2 separate regions of the Homo sapiens genome follow, and region 2 is linked to region 1. Evidence: promoter capture Hi-C in 16 types of primary human blood cells and fetal thymus (Javierre and others, 2016). All regions are on one chromosome and are shown on one strand. The core of a region is centred on a gene start or on the middle of the fragment in contact, and the rest is flanking DNA. Distances in the headings are between cores, read along the strand shown. Region 1 holds the start of C5orf58 (chromosome 5 open reading frame 58). Region 2 has its middle 50 kb from the start of KCNIP1.

Region 1 (5,212 bases), core at 881-3,380:
CCCATCATCACTTGATTTTCAGGATTCTCAGTCTTAATGCTATCTCCACCCACCTACTTCTCCTAAGCACCTTATTTACTCCTGTAGTTATCCACAGGGAGTTTCTAAAAGTGAAGAAGTTTTTACTTCTTCATCATCAAAATAAGTGAGGAGGAGAAAGGATACATCCTGTAAGCTTTCTGTCAAGATAGTCTTATTCTGAAGTTAAGACCCTCCTCCTTTTATTTTCTTCCTTCTGTTTTGATTTTAAATTATCCTTGCTTTTATAATACAATGAAGCCAGTTCTTTTTGCTTGGTTTTATACATTAATGTCCTAATTTAGAAATAAATGTTGCTTACCCTATGTTGGTCTCCCCGTATTTGTATTCCTCTTTTAACTCTTTCAGTCATTCTAATTATATCAAGAAGAAAGTCTTGGTTTGTGCTAGACTGTCTTTAACACTTCTCTAACACTTAATAAGAACCCATTTTAACAAAAAAGATCAGGCTGCAGAAAACACTGCAACTGGTTGCGAGCGTATATACATGATTAAAATATGCCTTATTTTCACTGTCTTTATTTTTCCAATGACTTTATGAGTTTTGTTTGTTTGTTTTGGGATGGAGTCTCACTCTGTCACCTGGACTAGAGTGCAGTGGTGCGATCTCGGCTCACTGCAACCTCTGCCTCCCGGGTTCAAGCGATTCTCCTGCCTCAGCCTCCTGAGTAGGTGAGGTTACAGGTGGCCACCACTACGTCCAGCTAATTTTTTGTATTTTTAGTAGAGACGAGGTTTCACCATGTTGGCCAGGCTGGTCTCGAACTCCTGACCTCGTGATTCACCCACCTCAGCCTCCCAAAGTGCTGGGATTACAGGCGAGCCACCGTGCCTGGCCTGACTTTACGTTTTATTCTATTTAACACTGGTGATATAAAGATTTTTAAGTAGACTTAAATTTTAAAAATAAGTAGATTTAAAATATGAAGGCAATAATATAGCTTCGTATTTTACAAAGCTGGTTATCATTAAAAACTTCTTCACCTTTAGAAACTCCCTGTAGTTAACCACAGGAGACAATAAGGTGTTTAGGAGAAGATAATAATAATATGAGTGCCATAAGCACAGAATCTTAACAGTGGCCCAGCAATTAGTACAATTTAGGAACTACTGGTTTAGCCCATCCCTCTCAATAGAAAACAGATAAGGAAACAGAGACTCAGAATAAGGAAGATATTCTTTTCTAAGATCATACAGCTGGTTATCATTAAGCTCTGTTCTCCTCTGTCCCTCCTCATCTAGGTAATTGCATTCGACAACAAATTCTGCAGTGTTAAAGTGAAGGAAATTGGATATAAAATACCCAACAATTGTGATGTGGGCTTTCAGGAAGGTGATGGTTCAAGAGGCTGGTGTGTACTATAGGGGAGGCATAGACGCAAAGACTTGTTGTATAGCACCTTGTGCTGAAAGCCTAAACTCCTCAATTTCTCAGGGCACCAAGAAAAATCTTTGGGCCTGCCTCAAAGGTTGCAGTGGCAGAGATTCCTCTGGAGTCAAGCAAAAGACGGCTCGAATCCCAGCTTCTCAGCTTGGCAAAAAACCATTTTCCATGTCTCAACTCATCTCTTTATTCATGCTACTCTTTACTATTATCATTCCTATAAAATGTTATAGGAAAAATAATAGCTAACAGTTATGGAGCACTTGGTATCTGCCAAGCACCTCTGATGAATTATCTCACTTAACCCTCAAACTAACACTGGAAGGCAGTTATTATCGTTCCATACGATAGGTGAGGACATCTGCACTCTGAATAGTTAATCGCTTATCTGCATCTATACAACTAAGCAGGTGATAGAATAGGATTCAAACCCAAGTGGCTTCATTCCAGAGTCTGCACTTAACGCTACCGCTATCCTGTGCGACTCAAATGCAGATAAGGGTTGCAAAAGCCTGGCACACTGGGGGTAAGGAATGTCAGTGCTTTTTCCGCCAACGTGGCCGCGCGAGTCAGTTGTAACCCGGCATCCAGAACCTTCTCCGTAGGGGCCTTGCCTGGGACTACAACTCCCAGGATGCCGCAGGCGGAGAAGCTGGCCAATCAGGGGGCGCGGCTTCGCCTTCACCGTCGGCTCCCTGCTCCTGTCAGAACCTCGGTGACGGTTGGCCAGGTGGGTAGTGACGGCTGCTCGGTCTTGAAGGATCCTAATCTGGTTTGGGAGGGTGAAGACCGCTGAAATTTCCAGGCTGCCCGAGGCTCCACCTTCCACCACCCAACGGGTGGGCGGTGGGCCGGGCTGGCCTCGGAGCCTCTCCCTGGGTGTCGGTTGGGCCGAGAAGGGGACGGTTGGCTGGGTGGGCCTGGCGGCTGGTGGCTGTCCGTAGGCCGGGGTCACTCTGAGGGCATTTTACATTACCCTAATCCTGTCCACTTGGCAAGAAACTTAGTAAGCCCCAAAGGTTCATTCCAAATCCTGTCTGGGAGGGCGAGGACTGTGGAAACTTCCAGATGCCTCAGGCTCCATCTTTAGCTGTTGAGCGGGTGGTTGGGCCGCTCATGGCCCCAAAGATCTGGGGGGTCTTCATGGGCAGTTGGGTCGCTGAGGGCCCTAAAGATCTGGGGCTCCTCCCAGGTGTCAGTTGGGCCAAGGAGGAGGCTGGGCTTTCAGAGTAGAACCTGCGGTGCTAACGATGGCTCTGCAGGGCTGCGGGCTGAGGGCCTGGGCGGCGTCCTGTGGCCCGGAGATGGCGCTCTAGTGGTATCAGGCCTTGAGTCAGCGACATCCTGGCTTCTGACCCCCCATTCCTATGGCCCCTACAGTCTGGTCTCCGCTTCCCCACTCCCGGTGAATTGCTGTTGGAGCAGCCTCTCCTTTCTGGGTAGTGGCCTGGCCGAGCTCCCCGGGGAGGGCTTGACCCAGACCTGTCCTGCCTCCAGTCCAGTCCCAGCTACATTGTTGTGTAGCACCCCACTGTGCCCTCACCCCACCCACGCGCTGGGTGCTCGAGGGCCTAGGAGAACCAGAGTGGAGAGAGGCCACTGTCTTGGGCTCTAAAATCATTTAGTTTCTACTTTACTATTTTTAAAAAACTTTTGCCTTGTTTTTGAAGTTCTTTAATTCCACCACTCCACCCCTTGTTAAAATATCATCTTTCTTTTTCCCTGCAACTTGACTCTTGGTTTGGCATGCCCAAGGAAGGCAGCTGACATCCTGGAGAATGGGGTCTTGGGGGTAGATGCAAAGCGCATTTTATTAATGTCTGGGAAACAAAATTAGTTTTTTTACAGTGGCTCTGAAATGAGAGAAATTGCAGAAATTCTCCCTGCTCAGGAAAAGGTAGAGGCAAGGATTGACTTAAAGGTTAGTTTGTTTTCATTATTTTGGACAAGCAGCTTGACCCATGACTGCCCACCTTTCACACTGCTGGAGTTGTGTATGCTAATTGAGATGGAGTTTTTCAAGTCATTTTGAGAGACTGAACAGCTTAAGACTAGTTTCTAGTGAACCACCTCTCTGTATATTTGTATCTGACACAATTGGTTAAATACAGGTACTGTATAACATAGGAATGCGTTGATTTATACATTTCAGTTAACCAAAATTAAAATGTCTGTTACTCTAACTCCCAAAACCAAACCAGCCATTTGCCATACTCTTAGTGGATTATAATTGAATTATCCTCTTAATGAATTAGAATAAAATTCTTTTTTGAGTTTCACTGTGTACTTAAATCATATGTGGGCCCTGTTATTCAAGAATAAGTTAGAAAAAGACATGGACTTACATAAACAAAATTAGAGAAGATCTTAACACAAACGCTAAATTGTAAGGTAGTTTATAAGGGCTGAGGCTTTCTGAAAAGGGGACATCTTCATTTCCATTGTAAGCCCTATCTTGTGGATATGGTTTGATTGAGGAAGGAACCTCATCCTACAAATTCCAGTTGGAGTTTTTAGTTGGAAAAATATTACATAACACATTAATGCCTTTTGATGTTAGAATTCTAACCATTTATAAAGATTTGTTTCATAATTATTTCTGAAATAACAGATTTATAGAAATACTGAAAATGTAAGTATTTTAAAAGTACACATAAATACTGATTTATACATTGTTTCTGTTTTTCTTTTAAAATCAGATGGGTAAGAAGCGTGTTACTGATCATAAGCTAAATGTGGACAAAGTAATTAAAAATATTAACACAATTTCTTCGGAGTTGAAGAAGATAAAAGGTAAGTATTGAATCACTAAAATGTTTGCATGTCATTGTTATAAAATAAATGATAGAGCCAGTTTGTGTTTCTGCTGGGGTATAAGTAAATTTTGCCCACTAATTAGGATTTCTCTATTTCTTAACAAATGTTTTCAGTGTAAGTGAACTAGATCTCTAAAGATGAATTATGTTCGACTTTGGAGTTAGCAGACCTGAATTCCCATCCCTGACATTAATAAGCTTATCAGGTTGTCTAACCTCTGTAAATTTTACTTCCCTTCCTTCCCTTCAACACACCATTCAAGACTATGTCACATTCAGCAAAATTCATTGTCTTTATAAATTCTTACTAAGCCCCTAAGGTCCATTCCAAATTAAAAAGTATAAATTAGATTCTGTGACTTAAAGCTTCTTCATTTTAAACAGATTCATATAGTAGGATTAGACCTTATAGGTCATGATGTTTAGTCGCTCACCTCACAGACATATTCAGTTATTTTATCCCAAGAAAATTTCTGTGATTGAATATTTCTAGGGATAATCTATCCCTGACCAAACATTTCTTATGCTGGGGAACTTCCTGTCTCACTAGTCAATCCATTCTATTTTAAACAATTCCTTCTCACCAGCTAGCTGAAATCTGTTCCCCTATTGCTTTCACCTAAGAGTCCTATTTCTAACCATGAAAACTACACTGAATATGTAGTTATTCTTTTTAAAACAACTCTTGGGTATTTAAAGATAACCTGTGTCAGTTATGAGGCCTACATCTATAAGTAACAAAAAAACCAACTTAACTTATACAATAAGGAAAAACAAGAAGATCCAAGGTAGCAGAGCCCTAAAGTTAATTCAGAGGTTTAAAGATTTTGTCAGGGACCAGGCTCTTTCCATCTTTCTGCTCTGTCATGTTCACTCTCTTTATTACCCCTCATGATCATTACCTTCAGAGGTGCTCATATATAGACAGTCTCTTTTTATAAGTCTCCTCCCAGATCCCTCCAGCACAGTTCCC
Region 2 (5,212 bases), core at 1,692-4,191, 220 kb after region 1:
ATGCAGCATGGAGCAGACACTCTCTATCCCAGGAGCTGCCCTGCCCAGGCCTGGGCTGGTGGCTATTGTCATGGAGTGGTAACTGTAAGGCCATCCTCATAAGTCCTGCTGATATCACTCCAATCCATGGACACCCCTGTGACTCCGTCTCCATTCCTCAGGCCTGCTTCCCATGGAAAGACCCAGAGGGAAACGTGGTTGGTGGCATTGGGGACTGAGAACAGAACAAAATTCAGGCTTTGAGTGTGGATTAGAGACGCACTGTGTGGTGCTTGCATCACCTCTGACAGTGGTTGGGTAATGGGCTGAATCACCCAATGGAGACAGAATGCCAACAGATGTTAGTTGAGGAGGATGATTAATCTCCTTCTTCGAAAACTCAGAGAATCTTTATTGGCAACGTTGAAGTCAAGATAGGGCTTCTCCTTAGCAACCGGAAAGCGCCTAGTGTGCATGGCTACAGAATTCAATATGAAACTCAGATGATGAAGGTAGCCATGGGCACCTCTGATTGCCCATTGTAAATTTCTGCCTGGAATGAGGGCTGGGGCCTCATAAATGTCAACAAAAGCTGGTGATGGGTCCAGAGAGGGATGTTAGGCCAGCCTTGATGGATGAGGAAGTTTCATTTAGGGGCTCCTGTCACTTCCCATCTTCAGGCCAAGCTGACATCCATGGCTGTAAAATTGTCACCCTTCTCCTTTGCCTCTCAGGAAAGCAAAACTTCTTTACGACACTTTTAATCAAATCTGTCTTTTGCCACTTCTCTCCCCACCCTGCTCCCTCTGCCTTTATCCTGACAAAGAAGCGAACTGTTACTCTCTGTCAGTTATTTGTCTGAGTAATTTCTTGATGAAATTGCAACTATAATTGAATTTTCTGAAAACCAGGAATTCAAATGAGGCGACAACAGAGGAAACAGCGTGATTAAGGAATTGTTATTCACTCGTTGTACATCATTACCACCCAGAATTCATCGCTGGATCGTTCACAGATGGAGTTGCTGAACTATGATTATATTTTAGAAAATGAAGGGGGAAAAATCTAAAAAGGCAATAAAACATATTAGAAGCCTTCTTGAGGAACAGGATTATTACTGATTAAGTATATTTTGCATGAAAAATGTGCTAGCACTTTGGCAGTTTAAATTATACGTCCGTGCAGTCAACATTTTTGCTGGTCTCAAAATTCTTTGTTAGTTTGGTCTTCTAATCACATTCCTCTTCACCCTCCAAATTGACGACTTGAAAGAACATTAGAAATGATCATTCCTGAAGGAGCATTTGCTCTCAAAATGCATTTACGCTCAGCAGCCATTAAAAGGATATCATCCAGTCACTTAGTTTCTCAATTTAACTTTAAAGGAAAGTTGCCTTATTAGAGAAGTGGCCTCTATTTCAATGTAATGGTCTTTGTCACATCTTCCAATGTGCTGGCTTAGTGCTGAAGGATGGGGAAAGGCAGTTTTCACATATTGCAGCCACCATACCACCAAAGAAAACAGGTGCACTTCCAGGCATCATTTAGCGGGGTACCACATTCCTGGTTCCAGTTTCCTTTTTAGAAAATCTGAAAGTAACTTTGGGGCATATCTTTTAAGGAGTACTCCAACACGACTAGTGGACAGACCCTAAATTAATTGCCAATCAGCTCTGCCTTCTGGTATTTACACCTTTATGTAATAACCTCCACTTGAAGGTAGATGAGATCTGTGACTTGCTTCTAACCAGTGGAATATGGCGGAGGTGGTGGGACGTTACTCCTGTGATTACATTACATCATGTGGCTCCTTTATGATGGAAGATTCATGCTAGAGATTCTCCTTGCTGACTTGACAAAGTATGTAACCATGATGAAGACTTCCACGTGGCAAGGAGCTGTGGGAAGCCCAGGTGCTGAGACTGGCATCCAGCAAACACCCAGCAAGAAACAGACGTCCTTGGTTCTACACATACAGGAAATGAATTCTGCCAACATCCTGAGTAAGGCTGGAACTAGATTCTCCCCAAGTTGAGCCTGACAAGTAAAATACAGACCAGCCAACACCTTGATTGCAGTCTTGTGAGACCTGGGGAAAAGGACACAGCTGAACCGTGTCCATTCTTCTGACCCACAGAAACTGTCACATCATAAAGGTATGTTAGTTGTTACACAGTTTAGAAAACTATTACAGCTGCTCAAGAAGGTTAGCTAGCTCCAGATTTCAATCCATTCACAGGAAAGCAAGCTTTATTCCTAGAAGAATAATTCATGCTTTGCAAAAAGAGGAAAACGTCCTGCAGTTTTAGAAGGTCTTTTCTTTCTCAACACACCCAAATTTCTTTAAAATCCTCAAGAAGTGCATTTGTTTTCATGGTTGACTCGAAGAAGTGAGTATAATTAACTCACAAAAGGTGGGAGGAAGGGACAAATTAAATTTTGGTATGCATACAGGTAGCTTCTTCCAAGTGATAATGAGCAATGTGAAACAAAGAGATTGGCATTAAATGTAATGAAGGACTAGAGGAGTGTACCTAAACCTGAAACAAATTCCAAGAAGTGGCCTTGACCTAAAATGTTTGCATCCTGCCAGAGACCCTTACTTATAAGTCAGGAGATACCTGATGCCCAGGAGAACTGGTTTTTGTACTCTGTCTTACACAGACTAAGAATTAAGAATGCAGGTGAGAAGTTTAGAAAACTTCCTGATGATCATATGAAAAGACATTAAACTTTACCTGGTAAAACTATGAAATGTTGCCTGTAGATTTCTAAGAAAAATGAGTAGGAAGTTGGAAATATTTCAGAATTAAGAATGTTTTTATATAATTAGAACTCTTTAAGCTATGTAATTCTGAAATCTGTGTGACAGACTTCTGTGTAAACATAAAGAACTAGTTATTTTTACAGATTATCTAGTCTGTGTATTCATTTGATGTTTCTATTACTTTTACCCTCACTACAAAGTTCAATGAAGGTTAAAAAAATATTGTTCTTAAAAAAAGAAGAGATAAACCTGGAGTAGCTATTTCAATGTTAGACAAAATGGATTTTAAAACAAAAATGTTAATACAGATAGAAAGGGACATTTTATAATAATAAAAGTATCAAAATATCAGGAAGATACCACAATTATAAACAAATATGCTCCTAAAAATAGAATCTCAAAATACATAAAACAAAAACTGACAAAGTTGAAGGGATAAATAAATAGGCAGCTCAGCAATATTTAGAAACTTCAATACCTCACTTTCAATAATGGATAGAACAACTAGACATAAGATCAACAAGAAAATAGAATATTTTAACAAAGCTATACACCAACTAGGCCTAATGGATATCTATAGAATAATCCACCCAACAACAGAAGTCTTCCTCCTCCTACTTCTCCTCCTCCTCCCCTTCCCCTTCCCCTTCCCCTTCTTCTTCTTCCTTCTTCTCTTTCTCCTTCTCCTTCTTCTTCTTCTTCAACAGGATCTTACTCTGTTGCCCAGGCTAGAGTGCAGTGGTGTGATCATGGCTCACTGCAGCCTCAACTTCCCAGGCTCAGGTGATACATGGGCCTCAGCTTCCCAAAGTGCTGGGATTATAGGCACAAGCCACATGCCTGGCCCACATATTCTTCTTAAGTACACATCAAACATTCTGTAGAATAGACCATATGCTAGGCCACAAAACAAGCTTCGATAATTTAAAAGGACTGAAATTATACACAATCTGTTCCTTGGCCACAAAGAATAAAATTAGAAAGAACTTTTGGAAACTCACAACTATATAGAAATTAACATACCCATAAGTAACCAATTGGTTGAAGAAGAAATCACAAAATAAATGAGAAAATACTTTGAGATGAATGAAAATTAAGACACAACATATAAAAATTTATGCAATATAGCTAAAGCAATGCTTAGAGGGAAATTTATAGCTCCACATACCTACATTAAAAATGGAGAAAGTTACACTGTTGGTGGGACTGTAAATTAGTTCAACCACTGTGGAAGACAATATGGCGATTCCTCAAGGATCTAGAACCAGAAATACCATTTGACCCAGCAATCCCATTACTGGGTATACACCCAAAGGATTATAAATCATTCTACTATAAAGACACATGCATACATATATTTATTGAGGCACTATTTCCAATGGCAAAGACTTGGAACCAACCCAAATGCCCATCAATGATAGACTGGACAAAGAAAATGTGGCACATATACACCATGGAATACTATGCAGCCATAAAAAAGAATGAGTTTATGTCCTTTGCAGGGACATAGATGAAGCTGGAAGCCATCATTCTCAGCAAACTGACACAGGAACAGATAAACAAACACCACATATTCTCACTCATAAGTGGGAGTTGAACAATGAGTACACATGGACACAGGGAGGGGAACATCACACACCGGGGCCTGTCGGAGGGTGGGGGGCAAGTGGAGGGAGAGCATTAGGACAAATACCTCATGCATATGGGGTTTAAAACCTAGATGACAGGTTGATAGGTGCAGCAAACCACCATGGCACATGTATACCTGTGTAACAAACCTGCACATTCTGCACATGTATCCCCAAACTTAGAGTAAAATTTTTTTAAAAAAAGAAAAAACATCTCATATCAATAAGCTAGACTTCTATCTTAAGACGCTAGGGGAAAAGCAGCAAACTAATCCTAAAGCAAGCAGAAGGAAGACAATAATGAAAGTGGAAATTAATGAAATTGAGGACAGAAAAACAATAGAGAATATCACTGAAACCAAAAAGTGGTTCTTGTTTTCTTTCTTTCTCTTTCTTTCTTTCTCTCTCTCTCTCTTTTTCTTTCTTTCTTTCTTTCTTTCTTGTTTCTTTTGAGACAAGGTCTAGCTCTGTCACTCAGGCTGGAGTGCAGTGGTGCAATCACAGCTCACTGCAGCCTCGATCTCCTGGACTTAAGTGATCCTCCTACCTCAGACTCTCGAGTAGCTGGAACCACAGGAGTGCACCACCATGTCCAGCTAATGTTTTCAATTTTTTGTAGAGATGAGGTTTCCCTATGTTGCCCAGGCTGGTCTCAAATTCCTAGGCTCAAGCGATCCTCCTGCCTCAGCCTCTCAAAATGCTGAGCCACCACACCCAGCTGGTTATTTCAAAAGATGAGCAAAAGTGACAAGCTTTTAGCTAAACTGACCAAGAAAAAAAGAATACTTAAATTACCATAATCAGGAAAGAATGAGAGAACATTACTACCAACCTCATA

Evidence for each region. The method cuts DNA at HindIII sites, captures the fragments that hold promoters and counts their contacts. A CHiCAGO score of 5 or more calls a contact.
Region 2: a contact is called between a fragment that was not itself captured here and the fragment with the promoter of C5orf58 in region 1, in 1 of 17 cell types (activated CD4 T cells). The highest score is 6.3, in activated CD4 T cells.

Annotation. Positions count from the first base shown.
Region 1 is chr5:170,230,855-170,236,066 of GRCh38, forward strand. It overlaps C5orf58 (chromosome 5 open reading frame 58), which reads left to right and starts at 2,131. Exons shown (of 4, transcript NM_001102609.3): 1 at 2,131-2,153; 2 at 3,261-3,344; 3 at 4,123-4,216. The coding sequence starts at 4,123. The HindIII fragment of the contact is 4,262 bases long and covers 174-4,435 here.
Region 2 is chr5:170,451,912-170,457,123 of GRCh38, forward strand. It overlaps a transcript of KCNIP1 not described here. Among named protein-coding and RNA genes, the nearest start is that of KCNIP1, 50 kb to the right of the region's middle. The HindIII fragment of the contact is 1,433 bases long and covers 2,226-3,658 here.